Regions from separate parts of the Homo sapiens genome. Here all the other regions are linked to region 1. The links are contacts of gene promoters, found by promoter capture Hi-C in blood cells and fetal thymus (Javierre and others, 2016). All regions are on one chromosome and are shown on one strand. Each heading gives the region's core, a stretch centred on a gene start or on the middle of the fragment in contact. The rest is flanking DNA. Distances are from core to core; before and after follow the strand shown. Region 1 holds the start of DENND3 (DENN domain containing 3). Region 2 overlaps PTK2 (protein tyrosine kinase 2). Region 3 overlaps PTK2 (protein tyrosine kinase 2). Region 4 overlaps PTK2 (protein tyrosine kinase 2). Region 5 overlaps PTK2 (protein tyrosine kinase 2). Region 6 overlaps PTK2 (protein tyrosine kinase 2). Region 7 overlaps PTP4A3 (protein tyrosine phosphatase 4A3).

The links. The method cuts DNA at HindIII sites, captures the fragments that hold promoters and counts their contacts. A CHiCAGO score of 5 or more calls a contact.
Region 2: a fragment that was not itself captured here is called in contact with the fragment with the promoter of DENND3 in region 1 in 1 of 17 cell types (endothelial precursors); the score reaches 5.3 in endothelial precursors.
Region 3: a contact is called between a fragment that was not itself captured here and the fragment with the promoter of DENND3 in region 1, in 1 of 17 cell types (endothelial precursors). The highest score is 5.4, in endothelial precursors.
Region 4: a fragment that was not itself captured here is called in contact with the fragment with the promoter of DENND3 in region 1 in 4 of 17 cell types (naive CD4 T cells, total B cells, naive B cells and 1 more); the score reaches 6.4 in naive CD4 T cells.
Region 5: a fragment that was not itself captured here is called in contact with the fragment with the promoter of DENND3 in region 1 in 13 of 17 cell types (total B cells, naive B cells, total CD4 T cells and 10 more); the score reaches 13.7 in total B cells.
Region 6: a contact is called between a fragment that was not itself captured here and the fragment with the promoter of DENND3 in region 1, in 5 of 17 cell types (total B cells, naive CD4 T cells, naive B cells and 2 more). The highest score is 8.7, in total B cells.
Region 7: a fragment that was not itself captured here is called in contact with the fragment with the promoter of DENND3 in region 1 in 1 of 17 cell types (monocytes); the score reaches 5.5 in monocytes.

What each region holds. Positions count from the first base shown.
Region 1 is chr8:141,127,339-141,130,194 of GRCh38, reverse strand. DENND3 (DENN domain containing 3) reads right to left here and starts at 1,606. Exons shown (of 23, transcript NM_001352890.3): 1 at 1,386-1,606. The coding sequence starts at 1,487. DENND3-AS1 (DENND3 antisense RNA 1) reads left to right here and starts at 54. Exons shown (of 2, transcript NR_183310.1): 1 at 54-171. RefSeq lists enhancers at 515-1,345, 2,179-2,856 and a silencer at 1,201-2,060. The HindIII fragment of the contact is 7,380 bases long and covers 1-2,856 here.
Region 2 is chr8:140,657,579-140,661,270 of GRCh38, reverse strand. It overlaps PTK2 (protein tyrosine kinase 2), which reads left to right. Exons shown (of 36, transcript NM_001352702.2): 36 at 1,593-3,371. The coding sequence ends at 1,805. Among named protein-coding and RNA genes, the nearest start is that of AGO2, 24 kb to the right of the region's middle. The HindIII fragment of the contact is 572 bases long and covers 1,507-2,078 here.
Region 3 is chr8:140,780,815-140,784,506 of GRCh38, reverse strand. The region is part of intron 14 of PTK2 (protein tyrosine kinase 2); the gene reads left to right. Among named protein-coding and RNA genes, the nearest start is that of MIR151A, 50 kb to the right of the region's middle. The HindIII fragment of the contact is 235 bases long and covers 1,574-1,808 here.
Region 4 is chr8:140,805,666-140,809,357 of GRCh38, reverse strand. All of the region lies in intron 10 of PTK2 (protein tyrosine kinase 2), which reads left to right. Among named protein-coding and RNA genes, the nearest start is that of MIR151A, 75 kb to the right of the region's middle. The HindIII fragment of the contact is 9,947 bases long and covers 1-3,692 here.
Region 5 is chr8:140,827,707-140,831,398 of GRCh38, reverse strand. PTK2 (protein tyrosine kinase 2) reads left to right here. Exons shown (of 36, transcript NM_001352702.2): 8 at 873-927. Among named protein-coding and RNA genes, the nearest start is that of MIR151A, 97 kb to the right of the region's middle. The HindIII fragment of the contact is 8,465 bases long and covers 1-3,692 here.
Region 6 is chr8:140,846,413-140,850,104 of GRCh38, reverse strand. It overlaps PTK2 (protein tyrosine kinase 2), which reads left to right. Exons shown (of 36, transcript NM_001352702.2): 6 at 3,427-3,506. Among named protein-coding and RNA genes, the nearest start is that of MIR151A, 120 kb to the right of the region's middle. The HindIII fragment of the contact is 1,309 bases long and covers 1,481-2,789 here.
Region 7 is chr8:141,392,112-141,395,803 of GRCh38, reverse strand. The region is part of intron 1 of PTP4A3 (protein tyrosine phosphatase 4A3); the gene reads right to left. It overlaps ASTILCS (antisense transcript of PTP4A3, liver carcinoma survival associated), which reads left to right and starts at 3,183. Exons shown (of 2, transcript NR_187488.1): 1 at 3,183-3,396. The HindIII fragment of the contact is 986 bases long and covers 1,141-2,126 here.

The DNA of each region.
Region 1 (2,856 bases), core at 357-2,856:
ATTCCAGTTGATTCGCCCTGCCCTCAAAAGACATGTGTCACACCAAGCAACTAACACCCATGTTGTAACTGCCCCAGAGGAAAGACGTTCAACGGCTGAGGAGACCACAGCGGCAACTAGGTCACTTCCTATTCGAAGAAAAAGGAGGAGATGCCATCTGGCAAATTCGAGGTAGGGAGACAAATCAATCGATGACGTTGCGAGGAGACAGAGGTCAAACGGGATCTACTGACATGACAGGGCGTTGAAGGGAAGGAAAAGTTGAGGGAAACGAGGAAACTATTTCCATAGGAGAATGCTTTTTCACTGAAGTCGAAACTGGCTTGGTACTGACGCCCAGCAGGGGAAACTCCCCGGACACTCACAGACATTCATCTGGTTACTTGCAGGAACATCTGCCTTTCCTGGTGACACCCTCTGCCCTGCAGTCTTCATTTTCCCTGGATAGCCCAGCGTCATTTAAATACTCAGAAGCCTCTCTGCCTTTCTATGCTGTTGTCTGCAAAGAGATGAACGGACCTGTGCAGACGGCTGGCCAGTGACGCCGGGATCTCTAGGTAACATGACCCAGTCACGGTGTCACAGACAGGCGGACCAGGAGGAAACCAGAGACACAGATGGATTCCAGGGAAAGCCAGCGTTACAGAATTAAGAAAAGCTGGGGAAGAAAAAGGAAAACGAGAATTTCCAAAACTGCCGCTTTCCCAGCAGAAGGGAGATGAAGTTGTCACTTTGGCTGCGAGGGTGCAGAGATGGAGGAAGGGTTGGGGGTGGGGGTGGTACCGCAAGGGAGAAAAATAGCTATAGGCTTCATCGCAAAGGGGTTCATGCAGAATACGCGAGGCCGGCGGCTAACTCTAAGATTGCTCTCTCGTTATTCTGTGCCTGGTGCAAAACCCACTACTCAGGGGACAACACATCCCAGCATAAAGAATGAAATCATTTCAGCAGCGAGGGCTGGGCCCGCTAGACCGTGAGGCTCCGGCGGCTTCCGCCCGTTGTCTGGTGCACCCCACCTTCAGAAGCACCTGCCCAAGATGGGAGCGACTGAAGAGAGAGGCCCCAGAGACTCTCCGAGGGGCGGCACCCCCAGATTCCCGGCCGGCGGACCAAGTTCGCAGCTCTCAAAAGACATGTCTCACACCAAGGGCCCCGGGCGGGGAGAGGAGAGAAGAGGGGAGGGGAGCAGGGCGCTGCTCCAGGGCACCTGCCTGAGCTCGGGCGCGATCCCCGGCCACAGGCGCGCGGGGTCACCGCCGGGGGACCGGGACTCAGCCCTCGGAAAGTCCGCGCCAACCCACAGGGCACCCGGGCGCCCGCTCTCCGACTGCTGTCCCGGCTGCCGACTCGTGGCCCACGTCCGCCTCAGTTTCCCCGCCCCTCACCTGCTCGAGACTTCGGAGACTGTCCCGGGGGGCGCCCAGCAGCGCGCAGAGCTCCAGCAGCCCCGAGGGCAGCGACAAGTGCGGCGACGCGGCCTCCGCCATGGCTGCCCGCCGCCCGCCGCCAGTACCGCACTCGGGCGCCTCAGCCGCGCAGTCGCCCGCAGACCCCTGGGGACCAGCCGCGCCGCCTGGGGGCCGGGGGCGCTGCGAGCGCCGTCTGCGGGGCGGGGCTGGAGGCGGGGCCTGGAGGGGCGGGGCCCGAGCCGAGGCGGGGCCTGGAGAGCCCCAGAGGATACCGCGGGGAGACAGAGTTTGGGGGCGGGGCTTGACTGGGCGGGGAGGTTCTGGGCGGGGCCTGGAGTGGCGTGCCCGGCCCTAGGGACCGGGACTTGGGGGCGGGGCCGGTCCTAGGGCGGGTGCTGCTGGAGACCCGCGCGCGGTCGTCATTTCCTAACCCGCCTGCGGGCCCTGGCGCGTGCGCGGCGTCGGAGCAAGCGGCCCCTTCCTTCGGCCCCGCCCAGCCCCGCCGGCCGCCCGCTCCCTGGGGAACCGAGGGAGGAATGGGCGGGGTCCTCAGGTGCCCGGCGACGTCATCCAGCCCCCAAGGCTCCAGGACGCAAAGGGTCCCCTGATCTGGCAGTCCCTGGACCTACCCTGGAGAGCGTGGGGGGACAAAGGCCGGACGCGCCGCCCGCTGCCGCCTCCAGGAAGCCCTCCCTTGCCAGGACAGTGGAGTTGGCCGGGTGTGGACAGCAGGAAGGGCCGGCGGGAAGGGGGGGTGGAAAGAGCCACTCCTGGTTAATAACTCTGCGGGGTTAACCTAGGGCCGGCCATACTCAAGTACGGACTTGAGTAAAATTCAGCAGGAAAAGGAGCAGGGTGGGCGCCGCTAGAGGGAGGCTTCAGGACTGAGGGTCAGAGGCCCAAGGCCTGGCAGGGCCCTTCCCTGGTCAGCTCCAGGCTTGGCCTGATGCCCGGTGGGCCACGGGCCTCTTCCAGCCTCAGGCTGACCCCAGAGAAAGAGGACAGCCCACAAGCCCGGGAGGCCGGCTTGCTGCCTGGTCATTGCTGCAGAGCCTGGAGGGGGCCTGCGCTCAGTCCCCGCTGACCGTCCCCTCCCTTGACCCTGCCATAGCCATCTGTGTAACCCAGGGGAAATTATTCCAAAGGGACTTCCACTTCTGATAATCTATGATTCTATTTTCTAAAAAACAAAACTCTAAAATGCTTAATGTCAAACATCTGTCATCAGCTGAACAGGAAAAGGAACAGTAAGTACAAAGCAAGGCAACATCAGAAAAGGGAGCCCTGAGGAATTTCTCCCTCCTTCCCTGAGCCGGGTGAGGCCGTGACTGCAGCCTGACTCACAGGTTTTATTTCACTTATTAACCTAAAGATGGTGAGGATCTGCTGGTTCTCCCCCAGGCCTGGAGGCTGCCTACCATCGGTGGCTCTCATCGGTGAGCTGAGG
Region 2 (3,692 bases), core at 543-3,042, 470 kb after region 1:
CAGCCTCCACATTGCCGCCAAGAGCCATCTTTCTAGAATATCTCTCTAGATTTTGTCATTCTCCTTCTTAAAAATCTCTTATCCCTCTTGCCAAGTCCTGCCAAATAAAGATCAACTAGGTGTGGCTTTCACAGTTGAAGCCAGCCTACTTTTACAGTATAGGCCAAATTCAGACAAATTCTCTCTGTGAAGTCTTTCTGACCCTCTCTGAGACAGAATGCATTGCTGTCTTATCTATGTACTTTTCTACTACGTGATTTATTCCAGTGTATTATAGGGTCCTGTGTATGCTTTTCCCATTGTAGACTGCGGGTAAAAACAGGTCTTCCTCCTTGTATCCAAGCACCAAGTGTCTCGTACATAATAGGTGCTCCATAATTGATAAAAGAGCAAATGGATAAGTCACCACTGGTTGAAGAAACAGATAAGAAGGATCATGAGACTCTCCCATGCAAAGCATTCGAACCCTGTAGGACAGCATTTTGTGTTCATTAGCTGCTTCCACCATTGCTGCCCTGACTTAATGTGTGCGGGGGGAGGGGCGTACATAATGGTCTGGCTCTGTCACCCAGGCTGGAGTGCAATGGCACGATCTTGGCTCACTACAACCTCTGTCTTCCAGGCTCAAGCCGTCCTCCCACGTCAGCCTCCTGAGTAGCTTGGAATACAGGTGCACACCACCATACTCAGCTAACTTTTTGTATTTTTTTGTAGAGATGGGGTTTCACCATGTTGCCCAGGCTGGCCTCAAACTTTTGAGCTCAAGCCGTCAGCCTGCCTCCGCCGCCCAAAGTGCTGAAATTGTACAGGAGTGAGCCACTGCGCCCTGCCACCATCCTTAAACCATTTTTTGTATAGCCAAGGAAGGTCTTGAAATAGAGTTGGCATAGTAGAAAGCATAAGACCAGAAGTCAGAACTGAGGCTTTTGTCCTGGCTTGGAGACTAAAGAGCTGTGTGGCCTTCAGCACATCTTACTGTATCTCAGTTGTCCACTCTAATGTGAAAGTGTTTGGAATAGATGATCTCTGAAGTTCTGTCAGATTCTGTGGTTCTATTATGAAACAAAAGCCCTGCCAGTCACTGAGATTAATAAAGTCTAAACAGCGCAAATGGAGACGAAGTTAGTCATGGTGTCAGGGAAGGCTTTGAATGGAAGGAACAAGATGCTGGATCTGCATGTGTGAATCGGCATGCACAAACAGGCACACTATAATAGCTGAATTTCTAAAGTAAGTAAAAAAAATGTTTAAATGCATGAATGTAGTGTGGGAAGTTAAAATAAGAAAAAAAAAATTTAAAGATTGATTTTTACATCCTATTGCTCCTAAGGAAGATTTATTTACAGGAAATAAAGTTTTCTTCTCATGGAGGCACTGAAAGAAAGGCTCATAAAAATTCCCTGAAAAGTTCATTGGTGCAGGGCTTGGTGGCATGTGCCTGTGTTCCCAGCTAGTGGGAAGGCTGAGGCAGGAAGATTCCTTGAGCCCAGGAGTTTGAGGCAAGCTTGGACAACACAGTAAGAACATCTCTCTAAAAAAGAAAAAAAAAAATCACTGAAAACAGTTCTCCTGACCTATCTCTTGTCTTTCAGATTGAGATGGCACAGAAGCTATTGAACTCTGACCTGGGTGAGCTCATCAACAAGATGAAACTGGCCCAGCAGTATGTCATGACCAGCCTCCAGCAAGAGTACAAAAAGCAAATGCTGACTGCTGCTCACGCCCTGGCTGTGGATGCCAAAAACTTACTCGATGTCATTGACCAAGCAAGACTGAAAATGCTTGGGCAGACGAGACCACACTGAGCCTCCCCTAGGAGCACGTCTTGCTACCCTCTTTTGAAGATGTTCTCTAGCCTTCCACCAGCAGCGAGGAATTAACCCTGTGTCCTCAGTCGCCAGCACTTACAGCTCCAACTTTTTTGAATGACCATCTGGTTGAAAAATCTTTCTCATATAAGTTTAACCACACTTTGATTTGGGTTCATTTTTTGTTTTGTTTTTTTCAATCATGATATTCAGAAAAATCCAGGATCCAAAATGTGGCGTTTTTCTAAGAATGAAAATTATATGTAAGCTTTTAAGCATCATGAAGAACAATTTATGTTCACATTAAGATACGTTCTAAAGGGGGATGGCCAAGGGGTGACATCTTAATTCCTAAACTACCTTAGCTGCATAGTGGAAGAGGAGAGCATGAAGCAAAGAATTCCAGGAAACCCAAGAGGCTGAGAATTCTTTTGTCTACCATAGAATTATTATCCAGACTGGAATTTTTGTTTGTTAGAACACCCTTCAGTTGCAATATGCTAATCCCACTTTACAAAGAATATAAAAGCTATATTTTGAAGACTTGAGTTATTTCAGAAAAAACTACAGCCCTTTTTGTCTTACCTGCCTTTTACTTTCGTGTGGATATGTGAAGCATTGGGTCGGGAACTAGCTGTAGAACACAACTAAAAACTCATGTCTTTTTTCACAGAATAATGTGCCAGTTTTTTGTAGCAATGTTATTTCTCTTGGAAGCAGAAATGCTTTGTACCAGAGCACCTCCAAACTGCATTGAGGAGAAGTTCCAGAACCATCCCCTTTTTCCATTTTTATATAATTTATAAAGAAAGATTAAAGCCATGTTGACTATTTTACAGCCACTGGAGTTAACTAACCCTTCCTTGTATCTGTCTTCCCAGGAGAGAATGAAGCAAAACAGGAATTTGGTTTTCTTTTGATGTCCAGTTACACCATCCATTCTGTTAATTTTGAAAAAATATACCCTCCCTTTAGTTTGTTGGGGGATATAAATTATTCTCAGGAAGAATATAATGAACTGTACAGTTACTTTGACCTATTAAAAAGGTGTTACCAGTAAAGTTCTTGTTGTAATATCCTTTCTTTTGGTTCTGTTTCTTCAGATGGCTTTTCAGGTGACTTGTCAGATAAGATAACATACAAGAGAGTTCCCAATAATTATCAGGAAGCCTCTCACTAATTAGTTTCTTTTTTTTTATTTAATCTTCTAAACAAGTCAAGGATGTTACCACAGAAGGGTAGCGTGGCGTAAGTTAACCTTTTCATTCCATCGTCACCTATTAAATGCAGAGCTCAGGATGGAAGTAGCAATGGTCTTCAATGAAAGAACCTTCCCCTGCGCAGGGTCTCACTATTCCGCTAACTCGGACTCAAAGCATAATTCACTTGTCAAGGAAATTGTTAGCATTTCCCAGGCCCACCCTAGTCTTGCTAGAATCTCTGTGAGCCACAGAGCAGGGAGCAAATAGAACTGAGATCTCCAGCACTAGGGACTCAGACTCCAAAGGGAGGGATTTGAGTGAATTTTTTCCAGGTAAATACATGCTCTTATGTGCAAAAGCAGCTTCATCTTTGGATCTGTGACAGTTACTTCATCTGAAGCAAATGTCAAGGGAATGCCATCCTTGTGAGTTTTTTCTAATTTTTGGCATTCTTGAGTCTCTTACATTTCCATTTCCTCATGTTTGAAGTGGTGACTGTGAGAGTGAGCTAAGTCCAGTGTAAATGGTAAAGTGCTCTACATACCTTGTAAGGAACTTTGATGTTGGACCTGTCCAGTGTACTCTCAGAGGTTTAGGAGCATCCGTGGCCTTCACCCACTAGAAACCAGTAGCACTCCCACCAAGCCGTGACAACCAACCTGTCTGCAGACATTGCCAAAGG
Region 3 (3,692 bases), core at 442-2,941, 350 kb after region 1:
ATTTTAAATATTTTGAAGGTATAAACTTGGGGGTTTTGTTTGGTGGATTATTGTGTTTGGGTTTTTTTTTCTTTTTCTTTTCTAAAATAACGAAGCCCTTGATCAAGCAGTAAAACCTTAATTATGACCAGAAGTACAAGATAACACATGATAGTAATACCATTGCATTATGCACATGGCTCTTGTTACATGTTTGGACTACACATGTGGCACTAGAGATAATACAAGTTTTCTCATTTGTATCTCTGTCATGTACACCAATGCAGTGATCTTTTTCAAATGCTTGGTTTGATTGTCTCTAAGCCCTTCATGCTAAAGGGCAATTATACTACTTTGTGATAGTTTTTTTCCCCCCACTTTGTCACCCAGGCTGGAATGCAGTGGTGTGATCTTGGCTCACTGCAACCTCCGCCTCCCAGGTTCAAGCCTCCTGCCTCTGCCTCTGCCTCCCGAGTAGGTGGGACTACAGTTGTGCACCACCACGCCTAGCTAGTTTTTGTATTTTTAGTAGAGATGGGGTTTCACAACGTTGGCCAGGCTGATCTCGAAGTCTTGACCTCAGGTGATCCACCCACCTCGGCCTTCCAAAGTGCTGGAATTAAAATTAGTCGTGAGCCACCACGCCTGGCCCTTTGTGATACTTTTTCAGTATTTGTTGCAATTTAAATAAATTTTTAATTTTCTAACATTATTTTGGTTCAGTTGTTTATCATGCAACATAATTTCCTTTATTCAAGATTACTTTTAGGTTTTTCAGGTTAGTGACTGGAAATTATTCTGAACTATTAAAACATTTAATGAAATAAATGTTATTTGTATTTTGTATTAAGCTGCTTCATTACAAATTCTAAAACAGCTCACTTGTATATGCAAAGGTGGTTTGTAAACTGTAAAGTTCTATAAAATATAAGGTGGTATAGTCTATAATAATTACTGCATTTTATCTCTTTCTGTGTGGTCTCTGATACACTAGATTTGTTACCTATTCATGACTATGCCACTTATAAATACAGGTAGTTATTTACATATGCATGTGTCTTAGAGATCATGCCTGGCCCATCCACAGGCATCATTTTGTTTAAACCTCATGAGAGTCTTCGTAATATTTTCACTTTACACATAAAGAAATAAAGACACTCGGAGCTGAAGTGGTTTGGCCAAGTTCACATAGCTAGTAAGTAATAGCCTGATGGAAATCTTGATCTTGGACTAGAAGGTTTGTTCTCTTTACATTAGACCATATTGACTCATTTCTTTCTTTTTTCTGGAGACATGGTCTCCCTCTGTCACCCAGGCTGGATTGCAGTGGCTTGATCTCAGCTCACTGCAGCTCAACCTCCTGGGCTCAAGTGATCCTCCTGCCTTAGCTTCCCAAGTAGCTGGGACTACAGGTGTGCGCCACCATGCCCAGCAAATTTTTGTATTTTTTTTGTAGAGACGGGGTCTCCCTATGTTGCCCAGGCTGGTCTCAAACTCCTGGGCTCAAGCGACCTGCCTGCCTCTGCCTCCGAAAGTGCTGGGATTACAGGTGTGAGCCACTGCACCTAGCCTATGTTGACTCATTTCTAAAGCTTGATAATATAAATGTGTGGAAGGAAATAATACTTTGAAAGAGTTTGCGTGTGATTCCATTAAGGTTTTTTCCCCTCATTTATTAGGAATAGGATAGTGCTGACTCAGTTCCAACTCTCAGAAGTGTGCCCTGTATTCAAGTTTGAAAAAGGTTCTTCTGTCTAGTTTTACACTCTAGTTTCAATTTTGATAATGCTGTGGGTTTCCAAGGTAGTCTCTATCTGTTGCTGAAAGCTTGATTTAAATGCTAGCTTTTAGGAATTAAAAGGGGAAAGAAAAGAAAAAAAAAAACCTTGCCCTAATTTGAGAGCATTGTCACCTATTATATAAGTAGTTCATTTTTTTCCCTACCAAATCTACGGGACACTGAAAAAATTAAAAAGTAAAACTAAATTTAGGCCAGGCACAGTGCCTCACGCCTGTAGTCCTAGCACTTTGGAAGGCCAAGGCAGGCAGATTACTTGAGCCCAAGAGTTTGAGACCAGCCTGGGCAACATGGTGAAACCCTGTCTCTACAAAAACTGTAGCCAGGCGTGGAGGCGTGTGCCCATAGTCCCAGCTACTCAGAAGGCTGAGGTAGGAGGATCTCTTGACCCTGGGATTTGGAGGTTGCAGTGAGCTGAGATCACCCCACTGTACTCCATTCTGGGTGACAAAGAGAGGACCCTGTCCCCCCCCCCAAAAAAAAAAACAACCAAATTTTAAAAGATAAATTCATTTTTGTAAATTATATGCTTTGTGACATAATTTAATCAAATTAATGCTACTAATAATTTTTATGTGCACAAAGTAGTAGGTATTGAATGTTATTGATCTGTTCCTAGTACCTGGCTCACTGGAAATTATTCTGGTAGTCAGTCTGGTATTAGGAGAGACTCCAAACCACTGAGAAGCGTACAGTTGTCACTGACTTCATATGGATAGACTGGCTGATCGTGTTGTGCATGAATAAGGAAGTGAACAATCAAAATAGCCCAGCTGTGCTGCCTTCTTTCCGATAGCCCTCCCTCTCCCACCATTACATCATTCGAACTCCCTTTGCCACTGTTGAGATCGGGGTGTTCTTCGTAGTCATACCGTTTCTTCTCTGGGTTCTAAAGCAGTTGAAAAGAATACTTGGAGGTCATATAGGTTTTGAAATATCAGCATCGTATGTTGTAAAGAAGTATCCTGAAAAAGGACCCGGAACCACTCCTTCACCCTTGAGCTGAACTCGTCTCAGCTGCAGGCAGTGCAGACAGTGCAGACAGAAACTCACAGACCTCCCTGGCAAGGGGTAGCCTGAGGCACTTTCAAATTTTTAAAAAGGCCAAATGAAAAGCTGAGCAATAATGAGTACAACAAAAATTTAAAGTGGATTTTTGTTTTTATAAACTCTTCCCAGCCCACAGAAATCCAGCTCAGTCTTATAAATTTTGTTTCCAGAAGAGAGTATTCCCATCTTCTCCCAAGCAGCCCCCACGCTATAAAGGGGAAAAGACTATATGAGAGTATTAGAAACAAAAATGTATTTTTGTCTTTATAAAATAAATGCTTCACAGTTGGCAGTATTGGGTATACTTGGCTTATGAACCATCTTGATCCTCTGGCGAAACTTATTAACAATAATTAATAAACTTCTCAATCTTTTTAAAAAAATATATTATTAAAACACAAAAAGCCCAAGTATCATCATCTTACCAAATATAAAATAAATATTGCTAACATCAAAAGGCCCAGTTATTTTTTTCTTTGCAGAAAATAATTTTAAAGGGAATGCTTGAAAGTTTAAAATATAAATTCTAGAGTTTGACCTCAAGTCTTCCCCCACCCCGTTTGTAGCTTATAGCTATACAATAATTGTGGATTAAAATCAAACTGCATGAGTCAAGACAAAATATTTTTGATGCCTTTACAAAGAGGAGACCATGGAAATGAATAAATATTAAGTACCTACTATGCTTTTGAATTTTGAGTTTTTAAAACTTTTTATGGAAAATTTCAAGCATATACAGAAAAGAGAGAATAGAATTGTATCATGATTTTTCGTATCATCATCACCCAGATTCAGCAACTAAAAACTTCTGGCCAATTTTATTTCACCTCTGCCTCTGTCCACTTACATACACACATAATCCCTA
Region 4 (3,692 bases), core at 781-3,280, 320 kb after region 1:
CTCTTTTGATTTGGCTCTTTTTCAGACTTGTAAAGGTCTGTCTATTCTAATTGTTTTTTGAAGGACAAGTTTAGTGATGTATTGCAGCAGTACTATTCATTTTCATTGATTTCAGTATTTTTCTTCATTCTGTTTTTGTAGTATCTTCATTATTTTTGTCTTTTTTATTGTGCTCTTCCCTTTTAAGTGCATCTTTAAAATGTATTCTTGTTTACTTTGGAGGCCATTTTCTTCTTGCACAACTTTTAATATGTCTTACCTTTCTAGGTATGTGGTATTCTTCTTTCCATTGTATTTCTGTATACTCATTTGAAGTTTTATCTTTGGCCAGGCACCGTGGCTCATGCCTGTAATCCCAGCACTTTGGAAGGCTGAGGCAGGTGGATCACCTGAGGTCAGAAGTTTGAGACCAGCCTGGCCAACATGGCAAAACCCCGTCTCTACTAAAAATACAAAAATTAGCCAGGCGTGGTGGCGCCTATAGTCCCAGCTACTTCAGGACACCGAGGCAGGAGAATCGCTTGAACCCGGGAGGTGGAGATTGCAGTGAGCTGAGATCACACCACTGCACTCCATGCTGGACGACAGAGTGAGACTCCATCTCAAAAAAAAAAAAAAAAAAAACAAGAACAAAAATTTTATTTTTATTTCTCTTTTTCATTATAGCATTATTTAGAAGAATATTACTTAAGTTTCAAGTAGCCCTGGGGTTTTATCTCATTTTTATTTCTATGAGCATATTATGAGCCAAAAATTTCATATTGGCTTATGAGCAGGTAATATGATTTTTAAATGTTAACTGTTTCACAGTTGTTAAGATCTTCTTTATGGCCAAGCGTATGATTTTTATAAATGTTCCTTGAAAATATATGTTTTCCTTTTGAGTTTATAAGGACCTCTGTGCCTATGAAATAAGAGGTATTAGTTATATAAAGTAGAAGAAAGCAAGATTGGAGCAATCAGGATAGAGCCCCCAGAAGATTCCTTGCACTGCACTTCTCACATTTCTGCCTGCCACACTCCTCCTCCTCATTTGTTCTGCCTCCCATGGGTGAACTTCATGTTCCTGAATGAGACCAACCCTCTGCTATGTAATGGCTTCTATCCCATCTTACCTGTTCATGGTAATTCTTCAGTTCTGCCCACTCTTTCCTGTAGCAGCAGACATTTCTAACATACTGGATTGTTCCTGTCAGCATAGAAAAATGTATAGTTTCTCCCATCCTAAAATCCCCTCTTTTAGCCCTGTGTCCCTCTCTCTCCCTGGTACCTCATGTTTTCGTGTCATTTATTGCAAAACTTCTTGACAGATTATCTAACTGCATTGTCTTTAATTCTTCCCACTCCCTCTTCAACCTGCTTCAACCAGGCCTTTCCTGCCTACTACCATTACACTACCACCGTCCACCCCTCAATGCCTTGCCAATGATGACAGTGATCCTCCTGTAGATAAGCCCACTGGGTAATTCTGAGTCCTCATCTACTTTACTTGACTTCTCCAGTGCTGTCCAACAGCAATACGATGTAAGCCTCATAGGTGATTTAAAATTTTATAGTAACCACATTTAAAAAGATAAAAAGATAGGTGCAATTAATTTTAATATATTTTATTTGATCCAGTATATCCAATGTATCATCATTTCAAGATATAGTCAGTGTAAGAATTCTTGAGACTTTATCTTATTTTTATCATTCCAAGTTTTTGAAATCTGGCATGCATTGTACCCTACCAGCATATCTCAGCCTGGAGGAGCCACATACCACTGGGTGCTCCATAGCTGTGTGTGGCTTCCTGCCACCAGTTGAACAGCACATCTCAGATTCTCCTTCTCAAGTGCTCTTTCCCTCTCTTTTTGCCCTTGTAATGACCACTTACATGCCTATCTTGAGTGTTACCTTAGTCAGTTTGCTTATATATTGTGTGCAGCTGCCTTGTGCTAGGTGGTAGGCTAGATTCTGCTGGTGCAGTACTGTATCTGAATGTAATATACCTAGTCTTAAGCTCGTGTTGCTCAAGTCTTGTTCTCTTTTTCGCAGTGAAACTTTTTCTGAGGCTTTATTTCCTCCCTCCTCTCCTTTCCAATAAATTAGATATTTTTATACAGCACCGTGTATTGCTTTGTTATAGTCCTTATCACAGTTGTAATGGTTTACTTGTGTAATGTTTGTTTAATGTCTGGATTCATGTTATCCTTGTTTGCTGCTGTATATCTGATACTTGGAACACAGTCTAGCACCTAATAACTTCTCATACTTCATTCACTTACATGCCAGGCATGGCCCTGCTTCCTTGTAATCTGGTGGTGGACAAGGTGGACATGATACTCCCATCCTCATGGGGCTTTCCTTCTAGTTATAAAATAGAATATAAAGAAGAAAATAAGCAATATAAATAATGGGATTGTGCTAAAGGGCTATAGTAGGGTGGCGTGAGAGAGTATCTGAGTGTTTGATTTAGAGTAGGTGGGCAGTGCCAGCCCCTCTTAACCCTGTTCTCTTTATAACAGATGTTTTAAATTATCTTTTGCTATCCTGAAATTAAAATTACAGAGCATGTTATTCCCCTACTCAAATAATTTTTTAAAATCTCTATCAATATCTTAAAGTTTAGCACAATACATTGGAAGGCACTCTAGTCAGACGCACCTACTTAGTAAGGACTTTTAATTGGAGGGAGAACAATCAGAAGCCACTCCATACAAGTGGTGTAGGAAAGTGATAGGGAAAAGTTATGTGACTGACCTTGGGGAATAATGCCAGAGTGAGGCAGAAAAACAATTTTAAAAAATATAATTTCCATAACCTAGATGTCTTACTGTGCCTTCGAATTTTTTTTTTAATTATGAGATAGCAATAACAAGGACTAATTGAGATAGTATTCCTCATTTCATGTGTCACCACCAACATAATGATGTTCAGCTCTCGGTCTGTTGGAAGGCGCCTCCGACATCCTCTGTTACGTACGTGCATGCAGTAGCTACAGATGCAAACTGATACAGGTGCATTTTGTCACTGACCAAAATAACTATAGCAAGTCTTGCCCTTGGTGGTGTCATTCTCCAAAATGGTGAGGAACTCTTAATAAAACTTCAAAAACAGCATAGTATAGGATTCCCTTGCATTACGCGTAAGTTGCATTCCTGGAAAGTTCAATGCAGAGCATACTTTGTGGTTTTAAACAGACTTTGTTTCTAGAGTCAGATTTTTCAGTGACATAAATACACACCAGGACATTTGAAAGCCGTCGAGGATGCAGGACAATTTTTTATTGTGCAGGAATTACCCATGCTTCATGTGACATCTAGCAGCCTTGGTTATAAAAACAACCCACCCCCTGAAATGGTTCTACCCCAACGAAACTAGAGCACATATCATCAAGACAAGATCATGACAGTAAATTAGGTCAGAGAGGCAGGCAGGGGTCAAATCATGTAGACAGTTTGCTCATAGAAATCATGCTATGTAAATCATGCAAGTTATGATGCTTTGTATTGTACCTTTTTAAGCAGAGGAGTGATATGATCTGGCTTTCAGGTAGGGACATTATATAGTAGCATGGATGAAGGGAAACTAGGAAAAATGGCAGGACTCTAAGCAGAATATCATATGGTGGCCTGGACTATAGTGACAACTGTGAAGATGGGAAGTAAACACATGAATTCTGGATGTTTGGAGCTGAAGTTGCCAGGACT
Region 5 (3,692 bases), core at 565-3,064, 300 kb after region 1:
GTATGTGATTCTGAAAAGATACCTGTATTTCCCTTTTCTCCTTGATCCTTTTATGTGTTTCCTGACGTTCCTTAATGTCGTCAGAGGCATTATTTCACATTGCTAGCACACGAGTGACACCTAGTGGCCAAAACATCTGAGTAAGTTAGTAACCAAAGTACTAGGAAAAGAATCAGCTATTCTTTCCAACCTATTTTCTTGGCCAGAGCGTTGAGGTTCTTGATAATAATGATCAATTTAATTTTGTTGCCTGACTTAAAGAACATTGCTGCGATTTCCAGCATTTCCATAAATTCACCTTTTTTACCTAGGGCATAAATTTATCTGTTTGTTTTTTCCTAATGTGAAACTGAGACAAGTGAATGAGTCACTTAATCAAAAAAGTCTATTTTTAAAAATAGTCAACTTTTAGGATAAACCTAAGGGATTTATTTCTGTAACTTCTCGGGTATATCCTGAATCATTTACTAATCAGGCTAGCTATTTTCTCTACAAATACAGTATTACCCAGTTGGAAGTGATGTTTATAACCTTCAAGAAATATCTGAAAAAGGACAGTTTTTAATACACTATAATTTACAAAGAGGGAATATTTTAGAAGAGTTTTCAACAATAAAGGTAAAAAAAGAAAAAACCAAAAGGATTTCTATTTAAACCAACTTGTATTCATGTTTCCAGTACATATCTAGAAAATGATTTGTCCCATCCTTCCTGTGAATATACTGGTAAATTAAAGCATTATTATACTTGTTTCCTTCCTAAATAATATATGGAAGGATAAATAATTTACAGTGCTTTTATGTTCTTGCAAGTTTGTCATATTAATTGATTTGGTGGTGTTATTTGTTAATACGCTTCTTTTTATATTTCAGAAAAGATGTTGGTTTAAAGCGATTTTTTCCTAAGAGTTTACTGGATTCTGTCAAGGTAATTAGAGTCTCCTTTATCATAATAAAATAACAAAATTATGCCAAGACCTTTTCCCCAGTGGTAAATTGCTTTTGGGAAAGTAAAATGTAGTTTCCTTCCTTACATGTAAAATATATAATTTAAAAAGCTGACATTTATTCTAGTCACATTAATGGCAAATAGGTTTTTAGTATAGCTTTCTCCCATAAAACATGGTTTTACTTCTTAATTGTGTTTGATACTCTGCTAAGCATAAAACTAAAAAAGTTATGTGCACAGTTATTCCTGTCATCTAGGTCTTCACAGGCTAAAATATTTTGACATGCAGAAGAAAAGGAGCAATATGTAAAATAATCGTGGTGGTGGAATCATTAATATTGTGTGTGTGTGTGTGTGTGTGTGTGTATGTGTGTGCGTGCATGTTAGTGCATTTTGAAGGTCTGTCTTTTGTTTCAACCCTTTGGATGCTTCCCCGCATTAGTAGCTTTGGCAGAGCCTCAGTTCTTATCCTTCCCATATCCAGCGTGGAGAGCACCTTGGAGTGAGGTGGGAGGACTCTGAATGTGTGATTCCCCCAGCTAATCCAGAGCACACATCAAGATTTTCAAGCGCAGCAGGGGATACAAACTTTAGGGTTAAGGCAGAGTCTGGCTCAGATGAGCTCTGCCATTTTCTAGCCTCAGGGTCTTGGGCCTGGTTTCTTATTTCTACAATGAAGAAAATAGTATTTTGTAGGGTTGATGTGAATATTTAACAGATTAGTAAATATATTACTTACCACAGTACCTGTCACATAGCAACAGTGGATGTTACTGCTCTTACTTTTTATTTTTCAAAGATCTTATTCTACATCCCATCAGCTGAAGCCCAAGCAGGAGAAGATACTCATTATGAGAAAATGTAGCTAACTTTGGATAAGTTATTTCATCTTTTGGTATTTCAGTTTACACATCCGTAAAATGGGGATAAAATCCATTTCTAACACGAGATTAATAAGAGGATTAAATCTTAGAAAGACCAAAAGAGAGAGAACTGTCGACGTCATGTTGATTATCATTGGGCCGGAGTGTTGGTATAATTTATCAGATGCAATCTGTGACAAAAGCTCTGTATTCAGATATCTGGGTCCTGCTCTCTGTCAAACCCATCCAGAATAGGACTGTAAGGATTAGTCACTGTTTCCCTGAGTCCAGAAAGTAACAGTATCCCTTCCTCTCTCACATAGCTTCTTGATAATCTAATGGGAAAAATAGATATAAAGGTGTTGGCTTTAAAACACAATGCATTCTAGAAATGCAATAAGACGTGCATTTAAGAATAGTACAGGAAAAATATACTCTTTATTTCAGGCTCTCTTTCTAGTGATGCTGCTCGACTTTTTCAGTGTTCATTCAAGTTTCCTGATCTATTAGTGAAATACTACAGTGAATTATTAGGGAACAGAGCATACTCCATTTAGTGTGGTTGAGGCCAGGACTACAGATCGAGACACTGTCCCAGTCTACAAGTAGCCCACAGACCATTGGCATGAGTGGGTTGAGTCAGATTTGAAAGAGAACAAAGAGTTTTAAATGAAGTTTGGCACAGTGGAAGGGGAATGAGAGAGAATGACACAATTGTGTCCTTCGAGAGAGTTATTAGGTGTGGGTGGCCCATACTCTTGCAGTTGGGAGAATGGGAGATTCAGTTTGACCTGGAATGTTTTTGGTGTGGGAGCCGAGAAGGCATGGGAAGACCCTTAAGTGGAAGGGATGCTGCTGTGTGTAAACCTGCTGGGTGCTGCAGTGAGGAGGATAGTGGAGACATTCAAACAAGTGTAAGCTACAGTTTTAGTGAATTTACATTGCTGTTGGATAGAAGAGTACTCTACCCAATGTTCTGTTGATGGTTATGTCACATTAGTAGTATTGGTCAGGGGTTTTCAGTTGTGAAGCACTGGTTTATGAAGCCTCAGAATTATTGCAAAGTCTCCTTAAATCTGTATGTGTATAAACAATTAGGAAAAGAGTGACTGTTGTCATTTAGGAGTCCAATACATTCTAGATTTTTAAAGGATCCCCATATTCAAAACGGAACCACAGGTACAGGTCACAGGTGCCATGGTGTGAGTGTAGCCAGAGTGAGACAGGTGCCCAAAGAGGTTCGGTAGAGGACTGGCCCTGTCTCCTCCATGACTGGTCCTTCTGAACCTCTGCTTCAATGTTCCCTCTCCTACTCTTTTCTCACCACGCAAAGTGGAAATGGCAAAATACTCCCTTCAATCTTGGGACCCTGTTTAGTATCTTAATTTTTAATTCTACTTTCTCTTTTTTTTTTTTTTTGTTGAGACAGAGTCTTGCTCCATCGCCCATGCTGGAGTGCAGTGGCGTGATCTCGACTCGCTGCAACCTCCTCCTCCCGGTTCAAGCAATTCTTCTGCCTCAGTCTCCCAAATAGCTGGGACTACAGGTGCCTGCCACCACACCTGGCTAATTTTTTTATTTTTAGTAGAGATGGGGTTTCACTGTGTTGGTTGGGCTGGTCTCGAACGCCTGAGCTCAAGTGATCCACCCACCTTGGCCTCCCAAAGTGCTGGGATTACAGGCGTGAGCCACTGTGCCTGGCCTCAATTTTTAATTATGTAGTTTGTTACTTGTTTGTATTTTATCTGCCTTCCTCCGCTATATTTTAAGATTGTTGAGGGCAAAGACAATATCTGTTGCTGTCTCCACTCTACACCCTTTGTTTGACATTGTACCTGGCACGTAGTAACATTTGGTAAATCCTACTTAATGAATAACAGC
Region 6 (3,692 bases), core at 886-3,385, 280 kb after region 1:
TTTTTTGGAAGGATCTTGCAAATTTCCTGGACCTGGGTATAATCCACAATAGAAAAAGAGAGTACAACACAGTGCCAGTGTTCCAATACCTCAGGAGATGCATATGAATCTATTGTGGTTGATACTGGGGATGCAAGGGTAAATGAGAGGTGGTTCCTATTTGTTAATCTTCATTCTAGTAGAGAATGACTGCACTGTGAAAGAGTTGACAAGTAGTAGGTACAAACTAAAGCTGGAGTTTTCGGGGTTGATACATCTGGATTTTGAATCCTGACTTTAATACGTGTTCAACACGAAGTTAAGTTTTCTGATCTTTATATATAATAGGACTAATAAACTCTACCTTGAAGAATTATTGTAAAGATCAGAAATATACGTAAAATGCTTAGCGTAGTAACTGGTCCCTGGTGGATACTCCTTAAGTAGGATTATTATCTACTGCTATCATTTTGATCAATCTTTTAGGCTTTTTCTGAGGCTATAAAATGGGGATGATAATAGTACCCACCTCACAGTGATGTTCTGATGATTAAATGAGATATTACATGTAAATCTGCTTGACATGGTGCTAGGTATATATACTTTATAGAAACCTAAATGCTTGATCAGTTTGGTTTCACAAATGATAGCAATTCTGCTGGGAGTTAGTGGAAGACAGGTGGTCAAGAAGTGTTTTATAAGGGATATGAACAAAGTGTGTACATAATTCTGAGTCTTGAAGCCCAGCCTCAGGATGTGGCCGTGCCCAGTGGCTTGAGAGAACACTCTCTAGAGCCTAGATGACAGGGAGCATTGAGACACTGAATAGAGTTTGCTTTCTCTCTGGCAGCAGAGGGGAAGCTGCTTTGGGGCTTGAGGGGAGGACACGGGTCTGTGGTGATGCCTTATTCTATCTCAGATCTATACTCTTTGCAGAATACTTTGATCACATCGGGCCACAAATAGATTTCAGTGTGTGATCATGCAGCTCTGATAATCGAGATTAAAGCTATAGGAAAAACAACTCTCAGAACTTTGAACTCATTCTCATAAATGAGATTTTTTAAATGAAGATTATTATAATTTCCCCCTTTTTCATTTTTACAATGCGAATTTGGTTTTGATGATGAAATATAGCATTTGATTATTTTTTCTACCTGTGAATAGTGTTTAAAAATTGTGGCAATTAATCTTCAAGATTAATTGAATTTGGTAATGGTGCATTTTCCTCATCATGTAATTGGTGGTCTGCAGTAGTTCCTCTGAAATCTGCATCAGACAACTAAAAGCCACTGAATGTTTCCATCAGAGTAACGGTGGTATTTTTCTGCCTATCTAAATACCTATCTTGGTTTAATTCTTGCGCCTTTATTTTTGTGCTCGATAATAAACCTACTTATGATGCAAAACAGGTTTTAAATTGAGACTTATTTTTTGTTTTGTAGAAACAAGAGCTTCTACTATTTGTAGAAGTTAAACGAATAGTTCTAGACCTAAAGCTTTTTACTTAACTGAATGAATTAATTCAGTTCCGGTTGGTCAGTCTTGAGTGCCTGCTTTGTGGAAGGAGTAGAAACTCTTGTTCCTTGTAAAGGAGGGAAAATATATATGGAAAATAACATTTATGTACCCACCCTCCAGTTTGATGACTGTTTGTTCATTCGTTTATGCATTCATTCAATAAATATTTATTGAGCACCCAGCCTTAGATGCTAATGCAGAAAATAAAGAAAGGTTTTGAGACGAATAGTCCTTAGATCAGTAATAGCACATAGTTGTCCACTGCTGGTTGAGGGAATGTTTCTCCTACTTTAAGAGAAAATAATGAGTAAATGTTCATACTTTTTTAGTGCATATTAGGTTATAAATTCCTGGTAGGTTAAAGAGAGTATGCTCATCTGATGTGTTTTATCTTCTCTGTAACAAAGAGATATGGCAGGCTTACTGGAGGAAGTATGAAATCAGTGAATTGTAGCGCTTCCTAGGCATGCATTGTTCAATTTCCAGATAGTTTTAACTGGCCATTTGAGATTTGTCTTCATGAGTTGAAAGTGGAGTTTATACTATGATTTCTCCAGCTGCTCATCTAAACATGAAGAGGATGAGTGGGTAGGTTCAACGTGGCTTGGGTTTACCAAGCAATTCAGACAGAGGGATAATGGGAGACAGGGGAGCTGGTTGTCTTTGCAAGGGACGGTCATAATGAGGAACCATCCAGTATGAAGTAGACAAAGATTGGTGTGGAGTGAGAGATGAGTTAACTGGGGGTGGGACTCTTTGAACAAATGGGCTAGCAGGCTAGGAGGCAGTCATTGAAGAACAGGATGTTTGAAAATTTTTTTAGGGTAGAAGTCAAGACACTTTTTATATAAAGGGTCAGAGTAAATAGTTTAGACTTTCAGGAACGAGGCAAAATGCAGGGTATTATGAAAGTACAGAACAAGAAAGAAGACAAATTTCCACAAATTTTTGTGTTGATAAAATTCATAATATAATAATTGAGCATGGTTTTCTTGTAACACAGGTGTACTGCTGAAGAGAATGGGATGCGTCTTGGAGGAGGGGTGGATAACATTTCATGTGAAGTTCAAAATGGGTACTCTCATCAAAATCAATTGCAGATTTTAATCTTTTCAGGCTAATCTACAAGGAAATTGTACACATTTCGTCTTTGAAAATGTGTTCACAGTGACAGTTACTTGCACGTATTGATATCACTCTTATCGGCTTTTAAAATTGAGTTGATTCATTGTTTAGAAGGCATTTCAAGAATTCCATTAGATTCTTCTCTTTACTTTAGACTTTAAGCTTGTATTACTTTGCAGATTAATCACTTAAAATTGATGGTTAGATGAAAACATCTGAGCTGCACAGTTAAATGGATTTTGAAGTACGTAAATCCTTTGCCTTTTCACTGGAGTCCAAAATATGCTGCTGGAACTGTAGTTTGAGGTCAGAAAATACATCTGCAAATTTTTGTAGAAATGGAAATTTCCCTTCTTGTTTTTACTTTTGACAGCATGGGAAAGGTGTGGAGCATCTGAAGGTTATTATGATTCAGACCCTATTCGTTGTTTCTTAATGTCCCATTTAAGTGGTCATATATGAGCTTTTCTTAATAGGAGACCATTTTATTTCTTTAATTATTTTTTGGTATAACTCACGTTTATATCTTTAACATCAGGCATAATTACCGACACAATGTAAACTATATGAAAGGTACTGAAGAAACATTTATTTATATCTTTAACATCAAGCATAATTACCGACACAATGTAAACTATATGAAAGGTACTCAGGAAACATTTATTTATATCTTTAACATCAAGCGTAATTACCGACATAATGTAAACTATATGAAAGGTACTCAGGAAACATTTATTGAATGCATATATCTAATATTTTTCTTTTAAAACAGTGTTGTTTTTCCCATTCCTTTTGTTGTAGGTGAAGAGCGATTATATGTTAGAGATAGCTGATCAAGTGGACCAGGAAATTGCTTTGAAGTTGGGTTGTCTAGAAATACGGTAAGATGATAACTATACATTGCGGCCTTTATTTATCAATTTTTTAATTATTTTTGAATATTTTCCAGGTATTTTCCTTTTCTTCATAAGGATTATCAGTGAAATACTGAATAAAATTTGAGTAAATTATGAACTATTGGTTTGGTGCAAAAGTAATTGCATTTGTTGCTGTTAATTTTTGTTTAT
Region 7 (3,692 bases), core at 384-2,883, 270 kb before region 1:
TGCCAGGAGAGGAGCCAGGGGACATCCCCACTGGGTAGATGAACGGGGGCTGCAGGAGGGAGGGGTGGCCCACGCACCTACCCCGGGTAGATGAACGGGGGCTGCAGGAGGGAGGGGTGGCCCACGCACCTTCCCCAGGTAGATGAACGGGGGCTGCAGGAGGGAGGGGTGGCCCATGCACCTATCCTGGGTAGATGAACGGGGGCTGCAGGAGGGAGGGGTGGCCCACGCACCTAAGGGGAAGTGGGGGTGCACTGGGCAATGGCCCCCAGTTCCCCTCCAGGAGGAAGGTAAACCTGAGGGCCCACTCTCAGGACCCCAGCTGAGCCCTGAGCCATGTGGTCATCCCTGACCCTCAGTTCCGCTTCCAAACCAGGAGGCTGCCACTAAAGCAGCCCAAGACTGAGTGGCACGTGCCTGGCGGGAAGCGATGCCCCACCTAGGGGTCCTTAGGGCCACACCCTTGGCTGGGAGGAACAGCCTGTCCTTATTTTCTGAACTGTCTTTTGTACAACAGCCTTGGCGCAGCTCAAAGGATAAGTGAGGTTCTCAGGGTCCTGACCTGAGGCGCCCCAAGGAGGGGAGACACGCGCACACTCTCTGCCAGGTGAACGCCTACTGGGCCATCGGAACCCACAGCTCGTGCCCCACCCACACTGGCACGGGCTGTGTCCACGTAGCCCTGATCCCGCTCGGCTAAAGAGCGCAGCTCTCAGCTGCCGTAGGTAGCTGCCAGGACCCTCCACCCTCTGCTCAGGCTCCTGGGTGGAAGGAAGCACCCGTCCCTGTCCCCGTCCCACCTTGGGGAGGCCCCCCTCTCTCCAGGGAGGCTGGCCTACCCGACTGGCAGGCGTGGGGCACACTCTGGGCCGCCCCCAACCGCACACACCCAACTCGCGGGGCGCCGAAGTCAGGCGGCGGCGATGCCAACCCGACCACGTAACTGTGCGAAGTGCAGTACCTCCTCCTGCAGCCCACAGCCACTCCCACCCAACTCTGAACTGTGCAGAGAGGACGGGGCTCATCGGCCCTCGGACCTTGCCCAGGTCCCTGCCTATGGGTCCTGCGAGCCGGTCCAGGTCAGAAGGAGGGATGGGAAGTCTTTTTTACCTCACACATGTTCACCCGTGTGACCAAGCTTCACCACTGTCCTGCCAGGAAGACCTGTCATTGCTCCCATTTTACAGGTGTGGAAACGGAGGGGCAAGAAACCAAGTATCCAGCAAGACACTGGGAGGCCAGGCCCTCCTGCCTCTAGCCCAGCCTCGGGCTGCTGCACTTGCTAGGAAACACCACTGCAGGCAGGGAGGGGTGCCAGGGACCAGAGGGAGTAGGTGACAGCAAGGGCGGCCAGGGTGGAGGTGGGGAGAAACGGTGCTCTCGAGGTGAGAAAGCGCCCTGGGGTGGTCTGGGACAGTGACCATCTGGTTACAGCCTTTGGTCAGATTTGGGACCTTCATGGAACAAGGCAAGCCCAAGGTCTTGGGGGGCGAAAAATCACCACTATCTGCCAGCCCCAGGCCCAGGAGCTCCCAGCTCAGCCCCTCTGGCCAAATGCCACCTGGACACCAGCCTGGTACACTTTCCACTTAACTCACCCTTTCGCCAGGACCTGCCAACCAGGGAGAGGCCTCCCCAAGCTGTATCACCGCCATCTGGATGTAAGTCCCTAAGGAGGTCACGTGCATAGGCATTGGGCACCAGCGGACACTCTGCCCACCCTGGCGGTGAGAGGGAGGGCTCACACCAGCTTATGCCCCCCTCTCAGTCTGACTGTGTGCACCTCTGCCCAAGTCCTCAGCCAGTAAAGTCACGTCTGTGTAGCTTGGGAGTAGTTACACCACAGAAATTGGCCAATGCCAATTCAGGATTTGGTTAAGCATCTGTTAAGCATGCCCTCATGTCATCTTTGAGCCCAGCCACCCATGGTGCCTCCAAGACCTCCTCGCCATCCAAACTGCCCACTTGTCTGAGAAAGCTGCCCACCTCCCGGCCTTCCTCCTGCCTCCCATGTCCAGTGCCTGACTGCATCAGCCAGCCACCCTCACCATGTTCTGGGCTGTTACTTGGGACAGAGAGGGGACCAGCTGAGGCCCCCAGCCTTACTCCAGTGGTCAGCGCAAGCTTCCGGGAGGAGGGCAAAGGCAGAGAGGAGCAGGCAGCTGAGGAAACCACCTGGAGGCTGCATCTCATCCCCGCCTGCATTTTCTCCCATCACGCCGACTGCCTGCGGGGGCCTGTCCGCAACCTGCCCCGCTCAGCCAGCCAGCCATGCCCCATCTCCAGGTCCAGCATTGGGCCTGGCACAGAGTAAGTGCTTGGAGAACACGTTGGGGGTGTTGAGGGGTGACCAGCTCCCTAGCGGGGCTATTTGGAAACAGCCCAGGAATTCCTACACAGGGCAGCTTCTCCTCCTTCGTAACCACAGTGAGGGGGGCCGGCGTGGTGATGGGGAGATCCCCAATGCCTAATTCCACTCAGGTGACAGGTTCGGGGCCCATTTACAGCAGCTCCAACGCCCCCTTTGCAGATGGGGACAACAAGGCTCTGCTTAGCCCCGCAGGCTAGGGGCTGCACCAACTCCACCTTTGTGGGCCTCAGTCTCCTCATCTGAGAAATGGGGTTAACGAACTTCTTGGGAGGATTGCAGGAACTCAGTGAAGCACGGCTCTGCACAGGGCTGCCAGGCGGCTTCTGTCTGTGCAAGGCCACAGGCACCCTGTGTTCAGTGACCTCCTCTGGTCTGCAGCCGAGGACACTGCTCCAACCTGGGAGCAGGGCCCCCAGGGTCCACAGACTAGGTGGATGCCCAACACCCACCATCGTGTGCGGGGCACACCCCAGAGCCCGCAGGCAGAGAGAGGGGGTGCAGCACGTGCCTTTCTGTCTTGGCTGAGGGTGCCCGGGCACACACTGTGACCAGCTAGCCTGGACCTCACGCTGCCCTTGGAGCCGCTATCACAGAGGGCCAGGGAAGCCTCCCTCATAAAGGGCTTCCCTCCGGGAACCGGCAGGGTGAAACTGCTCTGCCCACTTGGAGCTAAGCATGCCACCACCCCACCCCTGGGCCACCAGCTGCCCAGGGGCGTGTCAGGAGTCACCCGTTTAATCCCTGAGGCACGTGGATCAAGGCTGCTGACCTGATTCTACCGGGGTGTGCTTGGAGGGCTGAGGCGCCGCCCGAGTCCCAACACTGGTATGGTCTGAGGCGGACTCCACCCGGCCTGAGACCTGACGCTCTGCTTTCCCCTGACCTCCACTGACATCTACGACCCGCCCTGGAGGCACGGAAGGCTGTGGGGTTCCAGCCCCCCAAACTGTGCAGCTGAGGAAAATGAGCCGTGAATGGGGGCAGAGCCAGATCCTGGGCGGGACCCTGCGCAGGATGAACTCAGGGTAGGAGGTCTCCCGCGCACCCAGAAACGGGAGCGGGTCACCCCCTTCCAGCCAGGGGTGTTCTGTGGCTCGCCTGGGGAAACAGCGGCCTCCTGAGGCTCGGCCCCGGCACGTGGCAGCCTCCAGGCCCACGTTCCCGCCGGATCGGCCGCCAGGCGCAGGGTCCCGGGACGCGCGGGCAGGGGGAAGGCGGCGGCCCTCCCGGCTGCGCGGCCCCGAAGCCGTGCCCGGAGCGGGCGGCGGGCTCGCGCGCGGACGGCCCCCCACGCGCCTCCACAAAGCGCCGCGCGCCCCCG